Linked DNA regions of Homo sapiens: regions 2 and 3 are each linked to region 1. Evidence: promoter capture Hi-C in human tissues and cell types (Jung and others, 2019). All regions are on one chromosome and are shown on one strand. Each heading gives the region's core, a stretch centred on a gene start or on the middle of the fragment in contact. The rest is flanking DNA. Distances are from core to core; before and after follow the strand shown. Region 1 holds the start of ZNF750 (zinc finger protein 750). Region 2 overlaps QTGAL (queuosine-tRNA galactosyltransferase). Region 3 overlaps QTGAL (queuosine-tRNA galactosyltransferase).

The links. The method cuts DNA at HindIII sites, captures the fragments that hold promoters and counts their contacts. A contact is called where the count stands out against the background at its distance.
Region 2: a fragment that was not itself captured here is called in contact with the fragment with the promoter of ZNF750 in region 1 in 7 of the 25 tissues and cell types used here (IMR-90 fibroblasts, adrenal gland, dorsolateral prefrontal cortex and 4 more).
Region 3: a fragment that was not itself captured here is called in contact with the fragment with the promoter of ZNF750 in region 1 in 3 of the 25 tissues and cell types used here (dorsolateral prefrontal cortex, lymphoblastoid cells and mesendoderm cells).

What each region holds. Positions count from the first base shown.
Region 1 is chr17:82,838,748-82,841,447 of GRCh38, reverse strand. It overlaps ZNF750 (zinc finger protein 750), which reads left to right and starts at 1,426. Exons shown (of 3, transcript NM_024702.3): 1 at 1,426-1,521. All of the region lies in intron 13 of TBCD (tubulin folding cofactor D), which reads right to left. The HindIII fragment of the contact is 7,618 bases long and covers 1-2,028 here.
Region 2 is chr17:83,000,929-83,003,672 of GRCh38, reverse strand. The region is part of intron 6 of QTGAL (queuosine-tRNA galactosyltransferase); the gene reads left to right. Among named protein-coding and RNA genes, the nearest start is that of QTGAL, 49 kb to the left of the region's middle. The HindIII fragment of the contact is 7,803 bases long and covers 1-2,744 here.
Region 3 is chr17:83,030,429-83,033,151 of GRCh38, reverse strand. All of the region lies in intron 4 of QTGAL (queuosine-tRNA galactosyltransferase), which reads left to right. Among named protein-coding and RNA genes, the nearest start is that of QTGAL, 20 kb to the left of the region's middle. The HindIII fragment of the contact is 9,928 bases long and covers 1-2,723 here.

The DNA of each region.
Region 1 (2,700 bases), core at 177-2,676:
TACTGGGGAGACTGAGGCGGGAGGATCACTCGAGTCCAGGAGGTTGAGGCTACAGTGAACCGTGATCGCACCACTGCACTCCAGCTTGGGTGACAGGGCAAGACCCTGTCTCAAAAGAAAAAAAAAAGGAATTAAATATAAAAGTAAACGCAAAGCCATGTAAAATCTTAAGTCTTAAGGAAAAAAATAACAAAAACAAAAAAACAGACCGGGTGCAGTGGCTCACACCTGTAATCCAAGCACTTTGGGAGGCCGACGTGGGTGGATCACAAGGTCAGGAGATCAAGACCATCCTGGCTAACACGGTGAAACCCCATCTCTACTAAAAATACAAAAAATTAGCCGGGCGTGGTGGCAGGCGCCTGTAGTCCCAGCTACTCGGGAGGCTGAGGCAGGAGAAACGCAGTGAGCCAAGATCATGCCATTGCACTCCAGCCTGGGCAGCAACAGTGAAACTCTGTCTCAAAAAAAAAAAAAAAAAAAAAAAAAAAAACCAGTTTGTCTGTCCTGGCCAGCTCGTCCCTATGCCACAGCCCTGCAGCCTCTGCCCTGCAGCCTCAGGCTCATCCAAGGGCCTGACACCAGCTCATCCCACCTCCTTTCCCAGTCCTCAAACCGACACCACATGCCAGCCTTCGCTACAACTGGGGTGCGGCCTCCGATTAAGCAAGCAAGCAGTTTTGGTGGGGGGGTGTGGAGGTAAAAACTGGCCCCCAAGTTAAGTGCCTCTGCAATTTAAAGTGGGGGGAGGGTGGTTTGCGGGAGTGCACAGCTGGCCCCCTCCCCCGCACCCACACACCCTGCTCCGCAGCTCTTGCGGTGCCTGGTGTCGGGCAAGCTCCGGCAGGTCCCTGCAGCCAGGCTCTGGGATAAGCTCCCTCCCTGCCGGCTCAGCTCCTGAGGAGGACCAGGGACAGAGACTCTCAGGAGCAGGGTAGAGGGTGGAAGGTCCACAGATCCTCAAAGGCCTCACTGGACCTCATGGCAAGGACGCCATGAATACTGTGCCTCCCAGGGTATGCGCGCTTGAGAATCAATCCAAGTGTTTGCCTCCTGCGTACACATGCTCAAGTTCTAAAGGAAAGTCTCACATGTCTTTATCATGACGCCAAATATTCATCGGGTGTGATTCTGATGAATATAGTAATCTCTATTCTAACTGCGGACACATCGAAAGCCCTCTGACATATGGCCGTCCAGGCAGCACCGACGCCGCACTCACAGACAGTTGAGTCTGGAGACAGCGCTGGGAGTCGGCGAGATAACTTGCTTGCTGGGTCCAGTGCTGGGGAGGCTGCCCGCAGCAGCTCGGTGGGTGCAAACACATGAATCGTAGCTGCGGGCAGGAGGAATATCAGGTGCATCTCTACGCCCCGAGGGCTCAACTCCTACACTTAAATCCCTCCCACTGGAACAGCAGGCTCCAGTTTCACCCAGCAAGCGTGAGAACAGGTACTGCTTCCTGAGCACCGCCAGCCACCGGCACCAAGACCGGCCACATCCCAGCACTGCCCACCTCTGGTAAGTACTCACTATTTCTTTTCAAATTCAAGTTTTATTTTAAAACTCTTCTCAGACGTATCTAAAATACCCAGCTGAACGCAGCGTTTGCTCCGTGTCTGCTCTGCCTTGCTCTGGGCTCCGAGGATTACTCAGGACCCAGCAGGTGCATGGCTGGGATGCAGACCACGATTACAAAACTTCTAATGAGGCTGACACTTTATTCTAAGAACATGAACAAGCTTATCTGGAAATTAACTCCTTGTTCTGCCCTAAAATTCATAAAAGTTAAACCAACACAAATTCATATTATTGCTTAACTGCTCCTAACCTCAAAAACAAACTACAATAAATGCTAACAAGAGGTAAGGGTCATATATATATGTGTGGTGTATGTACATTAGGGTGAATTTAGGGTTATATGTGTGGTGTATGTACATTAGGGCTGAATTTAGGGTTATATATATGTGTGGTGTATGTACATTAGGCTGAATTTAGGGTTATATATGTGTGGTGTATGTACATTAGGGCTGAATTTAGGGTTATATATATGTGTGGTGTATGTACATTAGGCTGAATTTAGGGTTATATATATGTGTGTGTGGTATATGTACATTAGGCTGAATTTAGGGTTATATATGTGTGGTATAAGTACATCAGGCTGAATTTAGGGTTATATATATGTGTGGTGTATACACATTAGACACAGCTGAATTTAGGGTTATATGTTTGTGGTGTATGCACATTAGACAGTGCCGAATTTACTATCTAGTTTAACTTTTAATAGTTTTAAAGTTTAAAATAAGTACATAAGCTTACATGAAGTTTAAAATTGGGCATAAGCTTTCGAAAACAAAACCAAACCAAAGGGGTTAAGTTTCTGTTTGGTTGTTAAGGTCTTCTGTACATATAGACACAGATACAAAAGGGTTTTTTTCCTTATATGAAATTTCTCATAAACTTGATTTGGAGGAGAACAATTACTGACCAAGCACAGTCCGTCCACATCTGTGCCCCTAATTTTCACTGCGCATTAGCAAAGGCCTTCCAGCATTTCTGACCGGAGTTTCAGGATGAGGCGGCGACTGTAAAGTGGTGAGCGTTTGTTTACGAGCTCAGGTCTGTAACTCGGGATCTCCTGCCGAAACTAGAGTTAAGAGCCCCTGGTTGTTTTTCTGGATCCATTCTTCCAAATTACAT
Region 2 (2,744 bases), core at 173-2,672, 160 kb before region 1:
TGGGAGGGCGAGCTCAGGAATCCCACACGCGGACTGCAGAGAGTGGGAGGGTGGGCTCAGGAATCCCACACGCGGACTGCAGAGAGTGGGAGGGCGGGCTCAGGAATCCCACACGCGGACTGCAGAGAGTGGGAGGGCGGGCTCAGGAATCCCACACGCGGACTGCAGAGAGTGGGAGGGCGAGCTCAGGAATCCCACACGCGGAGGGCGGGAGGGCGGGCTCAGGAATCCCACACGCGGACTGCGGAGAGTGGGAGGGCGGGCTCAGGAATCCCACACGCGGACTGCAGAGAGTGGGAGGGCGAGCTCAGGAATCCCACACGCGGAGGGCGGGAGGGCGGGCTCAGGAATCCCACACGCGGACTGCGGAGGGCGGGAGGGCGGGCTCAGGAATCCCACACGCGGAGGGCGGGAGGGCGGGCTCAGGAATCCCACACGCGGACTGCAGAGAGTGGGAGGGCGGGCTCAGGAATCCCACACGCGGAGGGCGGGCTCAGGAATCCCACACGCGGACTGCAGAGAGTGGGAGGGCGAGCTCAGGAATCCCACACGCGGAGGGCGGGAGGGCGGGCTCAGGAATCCCACACGCGGACTGCGGAGAGTGGGAGGGCGGGCTCAGGAATCCCACACGCGGAGGGCGGGAGGGCGGGCTCAGGAATCCCACACGCGGAGGGCGGGAGGGCGGGCTCAGGAATCCCACACGCGGACTGCGGAGAGTGGGAGGGCGGGCTCAGGAATCCCACACGCGGAGGGCGGGAGGGCGGGCTCAGGAATCCCACACGCGGAGGGCGGGCTCAGGAATCCCACACGCGGACTGCAGAGAGTGGGAGGGCGGGCTCAGGAATCCCACAGCTAGTGTTTCAGCGTCTCCGTGTCCCGTGTGCCCCCAGCACGTTCCAAGAGCCAGGCTGCTGCATGCGATGTGGACAACAGGGTGTCCTCGGCAGTGGACTGTGCTTCTGTGAGACTGGACACGGGGCCGCCCGCGGTGCCGCCTCGGGTATGACTGGCTGCCGTCTGAGGGAGGGGACGTGGCCGTTGCCACATGGGTGGCTTGTCCCTGCCATCCTCTGTGGGGCCCTTGGCTGCCCCTGGGGGAGGCAGAGACCATCTTGTGGTCATGTCATGACAGCCCTTCCCTGTACGAGCTAGCGGCCGAGGGCGCGTGTCCTGGTGACTAGGCTGCACACTGTGAGTGAGTTGCTGTGCTTTTCAGTGAAGTTGTGAAAATACTTAAAACGGGAACTCAGGCAGACTGTGGCTACTTTTCTAAGTAACGTGCACCTCGTGCAAACCGGAATGCGGTTCGGCGTTGCCAAGCTGGTTCTGAACTGCAGCAGTCTGGACACATGTTGAGTTTCAGCCCAGCTCCAGACCGCGGTCAGAGCGCTGTCACCGAGAGCGGGTTCCCCGGAGGCCATGGCTGAGCTGCCCCGTGGGGGCAGGCTTTCTCCTGAGTGTTAGCTTTGATGCCCATAGAAGAGTTTTTTATTTTCATGTTTTTTAATTAAAATGAATCAATGTTCTTTTATCAGTTACATACTGTATTCACTTAAAACAATTTTAAAATAGACCTTCATGCCAGTATAGTGTGGGAAATTTAAAAAAAAAAAAAAGGCGCAGTGGCTCACGCCTATAATCCCAGCACTTTGAGAGGCTGAAGCAGGAGGATCACTTGAGCCTGGGGATTTAAGACCAGTCTGCGCAATATAGTGAGACCCTGTCTCTACGAAACATTATCTGGGTGTGGTGGTTCACACCTTTAGTCCCAGTTTCTCGGGAGGCTGAGGTGGGAGGATCACCTGAGCCCAGGAGGTCAAGGCCACCATGAGCCATGATTGTACCACTGCCCTCCAGCCTGGGCAACAGACCCTGTCTCAAAAAAAGAAAAAGAAAAACTTTATTGCATTTGTCAAAAGTTATGCTTCACTGTTTCATAAAGTCAAGCAATATAAAAAATTACAGAGAAAAAACGATGTTACTGCAAACCCACCACTTGTTCCTCTCAGATGTCTCTGTGTGCAGGTCACACACCCAGCACCTAGAGGGGCTCCCGTCCCCCACCCCGCCCGCCCCTCTGCTTTCTGTGACCATAGACTGGTTTACGTTTGCTGGAATTTTACGTAAATGGAGTCCTACACCCTGTGTTGACTTGAAGGATGCCGAAGTGTTCCTTCCTGGGACTTTCTGTTTCATAAAGTTCTGTTTTTCTCCTCCTTGTCCACTTTCTCATCTTCTTCCTTTTTTCTTCACAGTTTCTGGTTTGAATTGAGATCTAAAGAAGGTGCATACATTGCAGTTGTTGATAAATCCCTTTAAATATCCAGATTCCTCCGTCTTCCTTTTCCTTGACTATGTTGTGGACGATGTTGAATGATTTGCCATCGGTGCTTTCAGTAGTCCGACTTCTGCTGATTGCATCTCCCTGGTCTCATTTAACAGATTCCTCTGTCCCTGGAGTTCCTGCAAAGTAGTACTTAGAGCTAGAGGCTTTATGGGATTTACAGTGATTTGTCCATTTGTCTTGTTGATGTATACCTTTGTTGATGTATAGCTTTGTTGATGTATAACTGACATACAGCAAATGGCCCCTATTTCAAATGTACAGTTTGATCGGTTTTGACATGTGTCTGTACCCCAGTGACCCACCACAGTCAACACAGTGAACACATATATCCAACACCCCAAGTTTCCTCCTGTCCATCCCGGAGCCCTCCCCACACCATGCAACCATGACCCACTTT
Region 3 (2,723 bases), core at 133-2,632, 190 kb before region 1:
GATATTTAAAAATTACTTTAAAATAAACTTCAGGAACATTTATCTGTATCTGTCCCTCCTCTGTGGCCAGGTTCCGGGGCTTCTGTGCATTCCTGGGGTGCCGCTCAGCGTCTCCAGGCCGCTCTGGCCCAGAGCTCCTGCCTACGCGGGGATTTACGCGGGAGCCGCCCGTTCCTCTCCTCCTGACCCAGCTCTTTTCCTTGATCACCAGAAGCCTCTGCACATGCTCCTGGTACATGTGGAAGTTTGGGAGAGGCGTGCCCGTGTGCAGACGGGGTAAAACTGCATATTTATCGGCCCAGCTCGGGAAGGCGGAACCCCCAGGGCGGCACCAGCTGCTATGACTCCTGTCCTGGTGCCTGGGTCTCTTTCTTCTCTTTTCTTCTTAGACCAAAACACCTCAGATTTCTCCCGTTTTCTTACACAGAACCTTCAGCCCTCTCTCCTGACCCTTCCTTGGGCTCATGTTTTCATGCTCAGATGGTCCATCCAATGTTTTCCTCACTAAGACAGCATCCACCAAGGACAGCTCAACCCACCACATGGAAAATGGTGCTTTTTATTGTCTTTGGGTGACAGGATTAGGGTGTGCTGGGCCCCTGAGCTCAGTCTGGGTCGGAGGCCTGGCCTGGTCTGACCTGGTTGTTCAGCTCCCGAGTTCGGTCTGCGTCGGAGGCCTGGCCTGGTCTGACCTGGTTGTTCAGCTCCCGAGTTCGGTCTGCGTCGGAGGCCTGGCCTGGTCTGACCTGGTTGTTCAGCTCCCGAGCTCGGTCTGGGTCGGAGGCCTGGCCTGGTCTGACCCGTTGTTCAGCTCCCGAGTTCGGTCTGCGTCAGAGGCCTGGCCTGGTCTGACCCGTTGTTCAGCTCCCGAGCTCGGTCTGGGTCGGAGGCCTGGCCTGGTCTGACCCGTTGTTCAGCTCCCAAGCTCGGTCTGGGTCGGAGGCCTGGCCTGGTCTGACCCGTTGTTCAGCTCCCGAGTTCGGTCTGCGTCGGAGGCCTGGCCTGGTCTGACCCGTTGTTCAGCTCCCGAGCTCGGTCTGGGTCGGAGGCCTGGCCTGGTCTGACCTGGTTGTTCAGCTCCCGAGTTCGGTCTGCGTCGGAGGCCTGGCCTGGTCTGACCCGGTTGTTCAGCTTCTGTGCCTGGCTTAGGAGCAGGTCTGCAGATGTTGTGAGGCTGGGCCTGTGGGCACCTTCCCGGGTGCTGGCTGCTCTGTGGAGTTGATGAGGACGAGAGTGAACATCCTCGAAGGACGTTGGGGTTTTGCCCAGCTGACCAGTGTGAACGTCACCTGAAACTCACTCTGGATCCAGTATGTGCAGAGGGCGTTACAGTCGAACAGATTCGGTTCCTGACCTCTAGCGTTGGCAACTGAGGACGGTTTAAACAGATCTTCACCTTTTGCTCATGAAGCATCTCCATCCTCCCTGGGACCCACCCCACACCTGCTGCAGTCAGAGTGGAGCCTCCCTGCACACCGTTCTCGTCACGTGACACCTGCCTAGACGGCTTGTCCTCGAGCCTATTAGGTGGCCTCAGGTGTCCTTGGAAAGGCTGTGGAAGGCCTCCCCCGTGACTGTCCCATGGCCAGGTTCCTAAGGGGCAGAGGGGTGAGTCCTCGCAGAGCCCTGTCTAAACGTGGCGCCAGTCCTGCGAGGGACCCGTGGGTGCTCGGGCAGCCGTCGCTGAGTTTACACCCTTCCCCGCTGGAAAACGTGACTCTGGTCCTGCGAGGGACCCGTGGGTGCTCTGGCGGCCGTCGCTGAGTTTACACCCTTCCCCGCTGGAAAACGTGACTCTGGTCCTGCGAGGGACCCGTGGGTGCTCTGGCGGCCGTTGCTGAGTTTACACCCTTCCCCGCTGGAAAACGTGACTCTGGTCCTGCGAGGGACCCGTGGGTGCTCTGGCGGCCGTCGCTGAGTTTACACCCTTCCCTGCCGGCCTCTGATGGATCAGTGCCTGACGCGGCGTTTCCTCCTGGCACACACTGCTGTGTTCTCGTCTCGGTTGTCTGTGTTCTTGGAAACTTTAGTAGAATAAAACAAAGTAAACAAGAAGCCTGGCTTTTAAAGAAAATAGCCTCTAAATAGCTCATTCATTATAATGATTTGGGTTCCAGTCCTCTTAGAGATGTTCAAACATAATGTCTATGAAAACATCTGCAGAGCGGCTTCACCCAGGAGGTCTGGTGGTTGTGAGAGCGCTGCTTACTTCTGAGCCGACCAGGTTTTCTTTTCCCTTCGCCCTTCAGGGTTCCCAGGGTGGAGAGCCTCTGCCACCCTCCTGTCCCCCGACTCCCGTCTTCACTGGGGAACCGGCCGCATGGCTGTCCACGTGCACAGGAAGCCACATGGCCTTCCCGGAACCGCCCCGAGGCCTCTGAACTGGGGCCTCAGGTGAGAGGAGAGGGGCCCATGTGGCTGGGATGAGAAGGGCCAAGGCGGGGCGGGCGCTGCAGACGGGGACGGCCCAAAGGCTCTGCATCCATTCGGCCGGCTCTACAGCATTGTCGAGTCATCGCCGGGGCTGTGGGGAGGGTTACAGACAAGCCTGGCCGTTCTCATCCTCACTGCCGATCCTTGAACCGAGGGGACAGGGATGTGGCTGTAGCCGTGCCCCAGACCCCGAGCAGCAGTGCCGTCTAGAACCCTCACAAGCCGGCAGGTGCTCTGAGCACAGCCTGCAACGCCCAAGGCCTGTCCCGTGTCAGAGGCTGTTCTCCTTT